Regions from separate parts of the Homo sapiens genome. Here all the other regions are linked to region 2. Evidence: promoter capture Hi-C in human tissues and cell types (Jung and others, 2019). All regions are on one chromosome and are shown on one strand. Each heading gives the region's core, a stretch centred on a gene start or on the middle of the fragment in contact. The rest is flanking DNA. Distances are from core to core; before and after follow the strand shown. Region 1 overlaps LINC02820 (long intergenic non-protein coding RNA 2820). Region 2 holds the start of ALX1 (ALX homeobox 1). Region 3 overlaps LRRIQ1 (leucine rich repeats and IQ motif containing 1).

Region 1 (3,389 bases), core at 369-2,868, 59 kb after region 2:
AAGTCTAGAGTTTCTGCATAGTTCCCATAATATAGTTATTAAGGGCACAGGTTCTGGGGTCAGCATACCTGGATATGACCCACTTACTATTTCTATGATGTTAGATGTTACTCTCCTCTTTGCTTCCATTCCCTTACCCAATATTATAAAACTAGCTTAATAATACTCCACAGAGTAAATTTTTATGCTTTCCTACTACGTTAATACATATAAAGTGTTTAAAATAGTACCTACACAGAATAGGTAGTCAATAAATTTAGCTAATAGAATTATTTAGACAGAACAAGGATTTATATTCTTATCTTACTTGTAAGTACAGAATTCAAAATAGGGCTGTAAGAAATTTTCCTCATATAACTTACATTTCTGTATCTTATATAAATCTGTTTTGTCTTTGCATTTTACACGTCGATCAGCATAAAAACCAAACTAGAGATTAATATAGTAGATCTACAGTATTTAATTTCTTATAATTTACATATTACATTTTAATAATAAAAGCAAATAAATATCAAAACATTAATGTTCTTATGATCAAGGACATTCCACTCTACCTTTAAAAAAATTTAATACCTGCTGTTTCCTGCTACATTGTATGCTATAAGTTTGACGGGTATTGACTCAAAGCATCTTTTTCATAATTCCCAAAACCAAAAACTTAGACAATGAGTTTTTTTTTGTAATCTACTTGATAGAAAAACTCAATATGATAAAAAACAATTTGATTATAAAACATGCTCCGAAATAACATGATAATTATAGTCTTTTTTGTTAACTCAGTATAAATGCTTACATGTGTATGTCAGAATGAGCTAGGTTATGCTGTAGTAACAAACAACCCTCAAATCTAGGGGCTTAGAACAACGTGTCCACTATGGTTTGACATAGTCACCTAAGAAGCTAGGTTGATAGACTGCCCGTCACAAATGCTGCTGGCTGTCATGTCAGAGGAGTAGAGAAAGCTCTGGATGATTTTTCATTAATAATTGATACTTGAACTTAGAAATGACACCATGATTCCACTGACAACCAGAACTAGTTACATGGCTCCTCCCCAACACAAGAAGTATAATCCTACTGGGTGTCTAGTAGGGAAGAGAAATATAAATATTTGGTAAATAGCGCTAATGATTAGTATATTATATTTCACTGCAGAAATATTACTATGGTGATTTTATATTTAAGACCCAGAAAACTGTTGTCATCTTGTATATTATATATCATAAATTCCATACAATTTTTATAAAATCTGAAATGTTTTCATTCCAACAAGACAATCTTTTCAGATATGAAATTAAGAATTAATTCTATGTTGAGTTCTAGGGACCCAAGGAAAAATTAGACATGGTCTCTACTTGGTAGAACTCAGAGTCCAGTGAGAGAGTAAGGCATGTAGCCAAAACTTTCAAAGGAATGCATAATGTATTACATTAGAGGTCTGATGGGAGTGTGATTGCAGTACAGAGGAGGGAGTGAAGAGATAGGCCTGATCTAAATAGAATGACTTCATAGGTATTGCATTTAAGCTAGGATTTGATGCATGGTAAGCATTGAGGGTATAATTAGCATTTCTGATATATTTTAATTAACTTTTTATTGGCAGACTCTATGTTTTGTTTATACAATATGTACATATTTTTTATTGTATATGCAATGTTTGGGGTGCAATAAATATGATGGTGGTTCCATGATAGAGAAAGATAAGTTTGGGAAAAGCGTTACGCCCCATCATGAGGGAATTGGGCATGCTGTAGGAAAGGAGTTTTAGACCAGGCACGGTGGCTCATGCCTGTAGTCCCAGCACTTTGGGAGGCTGAGGCGGGCGGATCACCTGAGGTCCAGAGTTCGAGACCAGCCTGACCAACATGGAGAAACCTCGTCTGTACTAAAAATACAAAATTAGCCAGGTGTAGTGGTGCATGCCTGTAATCCCAGCTACTCGGGAGACTGAGGCAGGAGAATCGCTTGAACCAGGGAGGTGGAGGTTGCGGTGAGCCGCGATCATGCCATTGCACTCCAGCCTGGGAAACAAGAGCAAAACTCCATCTAAAACAAACAAACAAACAAACAAACAAAATTAATGTTATTCTGAGGGTAAAGATAATCAACTAAGTTTTTAAAGAAGGAACATAAAATGTTCTGTGCTTTCTGAAGGTCCTTTTGTGCCAGAGGATCAATGTAGGAATGTCAAACTCATTAGAAAAAGTGATTTATGAAAAGAGAAGTAAATTATACTGTTTTTATATTTCAGTTGTTTTAGTAATGTCTTTTCAATATAGTGTGTATATTCAATATTAAACCTAGCTGAGAACTCAAATCTTAAACATCGATGTGCTTGTCTGAACAGAAGGTTATACAGAGGAATTCCTCATGTTGATGTTTAGGTAGGTTGACTACAACTTTTCCTTATGCATGTTGCATTCCTGGAGTCCTATCGAGTGTCAAATACATTTTGCCACTGTCATTCTTCTGTATTTTAATTCTTGAAATATGTGAATAGCATATGATGGATAAATTTTGTACAATAAGTCATGTATACACCTCCTTAAAAACCACAGCTGTACTTGCATCAATACTTGAAGTGAAATTGCAGGAAAATCTCTGAAATGAGGAAAACATAAAAAATTGAACAGTTTACATTTATAGAAAAAATACTTCATTTAGAAAAATATATGAACTACTTAAGAAATATTGAAGTCAAAATTTGTATTATATTTTGCACATTGTATATAGTTATAGCATTTATAAAATGTATGATTCAATAAGATGATATGTTACTAACATATTGAGATTATTTTAAAGTATATACCAGCCTATATATTTTTTAATAATACATAATGTATAAAACACTTTTCTATACATTCAGGTCAGTTACTAAGCATAAAATCATTGAGGTAGTAAAAGGGTAAATTATGTTGCATCTTTATCACACAGACATCAGTTGAACAGTTTATTGCAGTTAACCAATGAAATAAAACTAACCAATATAAAAATACTATGATATGACTTTTTATTGCAGAAAACATTATAGAAGACCTTACTTTAATGAAAAAAAGTGACTTTTTGGGGAAAGTGGTAGTTTACTATCTATGAAATAGAATTTCCTTTCTACTTGTTTCATTCTATAGGCCAACATGAAATGGAATAATGAGATGAATTAGAATTTGTATTGAAATGCATATGAATTGAATGCCTGGTTTTGCTACTTATTAACTATAGCCTTGAGTGAGTTGGTTAAACTCCCAAGTCTCTGTTTATGCATGTGTAAATTGAGAATTATGACAGCTAGTATAAGGAGTTGTGTATATGAAGAAAATGATGCAAAGTCAATGCAATGAATAGGAGCCATTGATAGATGAAGAGAACTGTAATACCATCATGATTCCGCT
Region 2 (3,820 bases), core at 280-2,779:
CCCATCAGCATGCCCACCACAGCTGGGCTTGGCCTCACCATCCTCAGAGTCCGGGCTGCTCGGCCTGCCCGAGGCCTCACCATAATTGCCAGACTTGTCTGGGGAAACGCGACGGCCGCTGTGAGTGCCAGTGTTGACAAAGGCTGTGTCAGGACGTCTAAGCAGAGGCCTACCTGGACCAAAACCTGTCTGGCTTATTTTCACCAAATTTGCTAGCTTAGGGTGCCTGACGCAAATGCGATTTTGTGCCCAGGGCACCGAACGCATTTCCCCCAAGCGCCGCGGGCTCCTAGGAAGCCAAGAGTCGTGCCAAAAGTCACACAGAAGGGCTTTCAACCTAGCAGTGCTGTCCTGCCTGCCCTACCATCCCCTCTGGTGGAAATGGAGGCCTTGGACCTGTCCGCGCCCAGGACGCCGCGCCGCGAGTGCCCGCAGCTCCGCGCGCTCACCACTCACTCCCAGAGCGCTTTTCGGAGTAACTCCACAGCAACTCTTTAAAATTAAAAGTAATTTCTGTAAAAATATGCAGACATTCCTCTTCTTCATAAACCCCTATTTGTAACAATCCTCACTTTGGCATTAGAGTAAAAGCCTTTCAAAGGCACTGATCCTAACGGGTTTTCTTAAAATAATTTGGGTCTAATGATAAAATCGTGGACCAAAGGGAAGGGTGGCGAAGAGGGTGTAGGGAATTGGTTGGCATTAGTATAATGGCTTCATTGCCTCTTGCTCGGCTTCTCTCTCCCACCCATCGCCACCGCGTCCACACTCCGCCGCATTCCAGAGAAAAAGAAAAGGCCACGGCCTCGTAAAGCTCCCAGCTGGCCCGGACCCCGAGCTCCTCCCGGTTAGAAGCCGAAGCGGCCCCTCTACTACGGCGGCTGCGATTAACAGTTGCCAATGCATCTGGTTCCTTGGGCTTCGGATTAATGTGAATCTTCCACGTAAACGATTTACGGATGAAATAAAAGCCTTTTAGAGCAATATTTCCTTTCAAGTTCTTAAGACGCCTCTAAATCTTTCTGGTAGTGAGTGGCCGGCATGGGGGCGGGGTGGGGACGGGTGGCTCAGGAAGGCGCAGGCAGTAGGGAGTGGAGGTTTAACTGCTTTGCGATCTCACCAAGATCTTCCGAAATGCCAGTCCACTGTCACGGCGGCAATGAATCTGGGTGTCAGGGGCTCGTCTCTCCTGGCATTTGTCTGAAATGGAGCTGTCTGTCTGTCTATCCTAGGCCTGGACGCCCTCTGCCCGGGTAAGTGGGGAAAATGGGGGTGGGGTAGGGGCGGAGGGGGACCTGGGGTGGAGTTAGTCGCCCGCCTATTTTCATATTCATTAGAACTGGGAGGCTGCCCGAGGAGGCCAGCTGAGTTTCAAGATATAAAAGCAACTTCGGGTGCTCCTTTTCCAGCCGGGACGTATTAAAGGGACCGGAGCGGGGCAGTTCCCGACGCCGCAGCGCTCGCTTTCCCTTCCCTCCTCTCTGGCCCTCCCTCCTCCCACCCACTGGCTCCCTCCCCCAGCGCTCTCCAGTTTCTGTGCCCCAGGAGCTACGCGACAGTCTTCCAGGATTATGGAGTTTCTGAGCGAGAAGTTTGCCCTCAAGAGCCCTCCGAGTAAAAACAGTGACTTTTACATGGGCGCAGGAGGTCCTCTGGAGCACGTTATGGAGACGCTGGACAATGAGTCCTTTTACAGCAAAGCGTCTGCAGGCAAATGCGTGCAGGCCTTCGGACCCCTGCCCCGCGCCGAGCATCACGTGCGCTTGGAGAGGACCTCGCCCTGTCAGGACAGCAGCGGTGAGTCGCTAGCGCCCCAGCCGGAGCCGCCGCAGCCCTTCCGCAATCGAAAATGCAGGATCGGTCTGATCAGGCAGGGAGGGAGAAAGGAGAAAAGTGGGAGCGAGGGACCTGGAAGGTGGAGGAAGGTAGTGGAAGGTGCTCGCTTTATGAAGCGGTGTTACTGCTGCTGCAGCCTTTGGGGGCGGAGGGCGGAGGGAGGGAGAGATCCAGCACCGGGTTGCCTCTGAGCGATTCTCCTTTCGCTGTAGGGTCTGGTCGCCTACGGATCCCTGAGTCCTTCTGTAATATTGGTTCCTGGAGTAAACTGATAGGGCGCTAAATAGAGCGTAATTGAGTCAAGACAGAACGCTTCCTCTGCGAGCCCGCCTTGCAGTCCGGGCGGTAGGAACTGAAATCGATCACAGCTCGTTAGAGTACGTCACTGTCGTCACGAGTAGGGAAAAAAAAACCGGAAAACAAAAACAAAAAACAAAAAACCCTTTGAGCTCCTTTAGGTAAAGATAAATCTTTTTAATTTTCCAAGACGTGGCGATATATTTTCAAAGTTTGAGGATCCCTAGATTTCTAGCGTGTGTGAATTTGTAATTTCTGCTTTTTTTTGCGTTTGCAATACAACACGCGTTGAATGTTTGTTAAACACTAAAGCACACTAAATAGCTTCGGGCAAACCATCCCCGGCCTAATCACTCATTCCCAGATTCTACGTTTTGTATTTTTATGACTTCACATTAAAAGTCACCTAAGGAGTCTTTGGAATGCTTCTGGGTGAAATCTTCAACTTTGAATGCCCAAGTATCTCCAAGTCAAAATGTTATCAAAACAAACCATCTATCTTTTCTATCTTGTAACCTAATACTAACCTATTATTTCAGATCGCGACAGCTAAAGCACGTTTACAATTCCAAGAGAACTTCTCCTTATCATTGTATATATTCCACAGTTAAGCTATAAGGGGCGGGTTGCTTTAAAATAACAAACGAATTAAGTGTGAAATATTTACAACAAGCCCCCTGCCCCCTATTTTATAGAAATTCAAAATCTGACAAAACACTGGCCTGTAGAAGCTCATTTTCTAAATATTTTGAACACAAGTTTTTTTCTTTTATTAATCTCATATTTAACTAATTTTATTTAACGTTGCAAGTAACTTTTGACTAAGGGTAAATCAAAAATAAAGGTGCAAATGATAGAGAAAATAATCAGCTAAGTCGTTTCAGTCATTTATTTAGAAAGATTCGAGCGTATACTTTTTGTTATTCTTACACTGAGTTGTTGGTTTTCTGGCTGCGTTTCAGACCTGGTATCTGTATTTGTGGAATTCTTAGGTGCATGCCTAACGTTATTTGAATTGACAGGTCTTTCTTTAATGATTCTGCAATGTCTTGTATTGACTCTGGATGGACTTGATCATAATATTTTATTTTGAATAGTCGAGAATCCAAAATAAGAGACATAATTGATGCGTTATCAACTTTTAAACAAATATCACACTATTAAGATGAATTATAACAAAGAAGTGTTAAGGAAGATGAACATAGGCAGTCATCCGCTTAATTTAGGAGAGATCCTGTCTTTCTCTTGAGATGCCCTTAGCCTCTCTGATGCTTCCCCTCCCCCATCCCTAATTGCTGCAGTTCCCCCTTTAATTTTGCCCAAGGAGATAGAACCGTTTGTTAATCAGTCATGGCTCTTCTTTATATTTGGTTTAACATCACATCTTCGTTTGCATGAAAACCGTTAATTTAAAAAATTTGTTATATATATATATAGACAAATTATAGTTGTATATATTTATGGGGTACAAAGTAATGTTAAGTTTTTTTAATGCAATGTGGAATGATTAAATTACGTTAATTGGCCATCACCTCAAATATTTGACATTTTTTATTATGAGAACATTTTTGAGAGTTACTCCGTTAGTGACATTGAAATGCACAGTACTCAATTATTAGCTATTGAAGTTATATGCGCATTAAACTTGAATATATTTGTATAATGATGAAAAGAGTTGTAAAAATAC
Region 3 (3,619 bases), core at 989-3,488, 53 kb before region 2:
CTTTTCTTTGACTTTTTACTTTCTAAATTTCCTATAATGAGTATGTATTATTTTTATAATAAAAGGTCAAAAAATGTTTAAATAAAATTACTTAAGGTTGTGTTTTGAAGTAAAAAGCATATATAAACAGTAGTAACTGGAGGACAGCAAGAATCAAAGGAAGGCATTTTTCTTAGGTTGATAATATAGGGAATTGATGATGCAAGACCCATAGAAGTAGCAAGGAATTGTGGACAAAGGGATTAGTGTTCTGCAGGCAGAAGGTTGCTTCTTCTAATATTGAAAGGAAGGAATTACTGGGCAGCCTAACTGGAAACTGATAAGTATCCGTTAATTTATCCAGGTCACCCTTATTCTTCCTACACAAGTTGCTAAAAGAAGGACTTCTGAAGCTTCCAAGAATAAATGTTACTTTCTCTTCCTCAGTAACAGGAGTAATTCTGAAATGATTTTGCTGAGACAGAACCACTTCCTCTAACATTTGAATTGCAGTATTTTCAAGTACATCCAGCCAATTTCACCACTATGCTTGTTCTGTTTCTTACACTGAGCTCATGCCAATCTACCAATTTATGCCTTGGGGTTAAAATGGTTAATAAGAATTGGATCCTTATGATTAAATCTCTCCTTTTTACTCAGGAATTGTTTAGAACTTTGGCTGAGTTTTGATGTAAAATTACTTAGTGTTTATGAAGTGTTATTGTAGAATTGAGGAAAGCTTTCCAAAATGAGTACTTTAAAAAGTGACCATTGCAAGTATATGTCACTATTTTTAAGAACAGGAAGACTGAGATTATTTCTGTTTTAACTAAAAGTTTGCTTATTACAAAAGGATTCTCTCCATATCAGGAGTAGGTGAGTTTCAAGTCTTGGGCTCAGTTGATCATCAGGGTCACTGAGTCATCACTGTTTTCTGTCACTGTGCTGTCCAACATCTGGCCTGGTCACTAAGGAAACCAGATCAGTAGCTGGGGTTTTGCTAGAAAGGAGACCCAATGCAGTGTGTAGCAATGCCAAATCTTCCCTTTGTTTGAGTGTGTCTTATAACTTTTGTATAATTATTTTTTTTCTACTTCCTTTTTTTTTTTTTTTTTACTTTAAGTTCTAGGGTACATGTGCACAACGTGCAGGTTTGTTACATATGTATACATGTGCCATGTTGGTGTGCTGCACCCATTAACTCGTCATTTACATTAGGTATATCTCCTAATGCCATCCCTCCCCCCTCCCCCCACCCCCCAGCAGGCCCCGGTGTGTGATATTCCCCATCTTTTCCATGTGTTCCCATTGTTCAATTCCCACCTATGAGTGAGAACATGCGGTGTTTGGTTTTCTGTCCTTGTGATAGTTTGCTCAGAATGATGGTTTCCAGCTGCATCCATGTCCCTATAAAGGACATGAACTCATCCTTTTTTATGGCTGCATAGTATTCCATGGTGTATATGTGCCACATTTTCTTAATCCAGTCTATCATTGATGGACATTTGGATTGGTTCTAAGTCTTTGCTATTGGGAATAGTGCCACAATAAACATACATGTGCATGTGTCTTTATAGCAGCATGATTTATAATCCTTTGGGTATATGCCCAGTAATGGGATGTCTGGGTCAAATGGTATTTCAAATGGTATTTCTAGTTCTAGATCCTTGAGGAATCGCCACACTGTCTTCCACAATGGTTGAACTAGTTTACAGTCCCACCAACAGTGTAAAAGTGTTCCTATTTCTTCACATCCTCTCCAGCACCTGTTGTTGCCTGACTTTTTAATGATCACCATTCTAACTGGTGTGAGATGGTATCTCATTGTGGTTTTGATTTGCATTTCTTTTTTTTTATATACTGTAAGTTTTAGGGTACATGTGCACAATGTGCAGGTTTGTTACATATGTATACATGTGCCATGTTGGTGTGCTGCACCCATTAACTCGTCATTTAGTATTAGGTAGATTTGCATTTCTCTGATGGCCAATGATGATGAGCATTTTTTCATTTGTCTATTGGCTGCATAAATGTCTTCTTTTGAGAAGTATCTGTTCATATCCTTCGCCCACTTTTTGATGGGGTTGTTTGATTTTTTCTTGTAAATTTGTTTAAGTTCTCATGAATAGGAAGAATCAGTATCGTGAAAATGGCCATACTGCCCAAGGTAATTTATAGATTCAATGCCATCCCCATCAAGCTACCAATGACTTTCTTCACAGAAATGGAAAAACCTACTTTAAAGTTCATATGGAACCAAAAAAGAGCCCGCATTGCCAACACAATCCTAAGCCAAAAGAACAAAGCTGGAGGCATCACGCTACCTGACTTCAAACTATACTACAAGGCTACAATAACCACAACAGCATGGTACTGGTACCAAAACAGAGATATAGACTAATGGAACAGAATAGAGCCCTCAGCAATAATACCACACATCTACAACCATCTGATCTTTGACAAACCTGACAAAAACAAGAAATGGGGAAAAGATTCCCTATTTAATAAATGATGCTGGGAAAACTGGCTAGCAATATGTGGAAAGCTGAAACTGGATCCCTTCCTTACACCTTATACAAAAATCAATTCAAGATGGATTAAAGACTTAAATATTAGACCTAAAACCATAAAAACCTTAGAAGAAAACCTTGGCAATACCATTCAGGACATAGGCATGGGCAAGGACTTCATGACTAAAACACCAAAAGCAATGGCAACAAAAGCCAAAATTGACCAATGGGATCTAATTAAACTAAACAGCTTCTGCACAGCAAAAGAAACTACCATCAGAGTGAACAGGCAACCTACAGAATGGGAGAAAATTTTTACGATCTACCCATCTGACAAGGGGCTAATATCCAGAATCTACAAAGAACTTTTGTATAATTATAAGGCTATTTATGAAAATGGAGTCTGCTCATGGATTCAATGGCCAATCCCCTCATGTGAAGTAAGTGTTCCTCTAATTGTAGCAACTATGGAAGAGTTGGCCTAAGTTCAGGTTTCAAGGGCTGAAGTCATTTTAGAAACATAAGGTCGCATAAGAAGCAATAGGAACTTTACTAAGTAACAGAGTTTTAGATACCCAAAGCATCCAGATTTTACGCTTTCCAGAGACCTGGCTTCAACATCTGTTTAAATTGAAAACTAGAGTCATTTCACTAATTACAACAGTAACTTTTAAAGAAGAAAGACATGTTAGATATATCATCCACAACATATTCTGAATGACACATGCTAAGCTTGTATGTATGTGTGTCTGCACGTACATGCACAGAGTATTCAAAATAGGTTTTGCACCATGCTTTATTCATTTTCCAAACAACTTGCAAATATGTAGACTTTTTATGTACAAACATCTATAACAAAAGAATATTTCAAAGTAATAAATTGACTTTAAATTTTCAGGTTTTTAAACTACAGAATTGTTCTGAGTTGATTACTGCGATTTAGGTTTTAAGAGGTGTCTCCCTCTGGTGTACTGTCAATCAAGTTTATGAAGCCAACAAGCCCTAAACCAAAAATGGAGCAGTCTAAAAGATCAAGTCCATGGAGGAAGGCTTTAAAACAACTAGTCTTCAGTGTAACTCTGATATGTATGAAATACTATAGTAGCTTACACAAAGCAAGCTCAGTTTTA

What was found. Contacts are between HindIII fragments. The study calls those that stand out against the background at their distance.
Region 1: a fragment that was not itself captured here is called in contact with the fragment with the promoter of ALX1 in region 2 in 3 of the 25 tissues and cell types used here (H1 embryonic stem cells, bladder and spleen).
Region 3: a fragment that was not itself captured here is called in contact with the fragment with the promoter of ALX1 in region 2 in 3 of the 25 tissues and cell types used here (H1 embryonic stem cells, mesendoderm cells and thymus).

Annotation. Positions count from the first base shown.
Region 1 is chr12:85,337,115-85,340,503 of GRCh38, forward strand. The region is part of intron 1 of LINC02820 (long intergenic non-protein coding RNA 2820); the gene reads left to right. Among named protein-coding and RNA genes, the nearest start is that of LINC02820, 21 kb to the left of the region's middle. The HindIII fragment of the contact is 5,488 bases long and covers 1-3,389 here.
Region 2 is chr12:85,278,691-85,282,510 of GRCh38, forward strand. It overlaps ALX1 (ALX homeobox 1), which reads left to right and starts at 1,530. Exons shown (of 4, transcript NM_006982.3): 1 at 1,530-1,797. The coding sequence starts at 1,572. RefSeq lists a silencer at 1,621-1,915. The HindIII fragment of the contact is 12,363 bases long and covers 1-3,820 here.
Region 3 is chr12:85,225,455-85,229,073 of GRCh38, forward strand. The region is part of intron 24 of LRRIQ1 (leucine rich repeats and IQ motif containing 1); the gene reads left to right. Among named protein-coding and RNA genes, the nearest start is that of ALX1, 53 kb to the right of the region's middle. The HindIII fragment of the contact is 3,366 bases long and covers 556-3,619 here.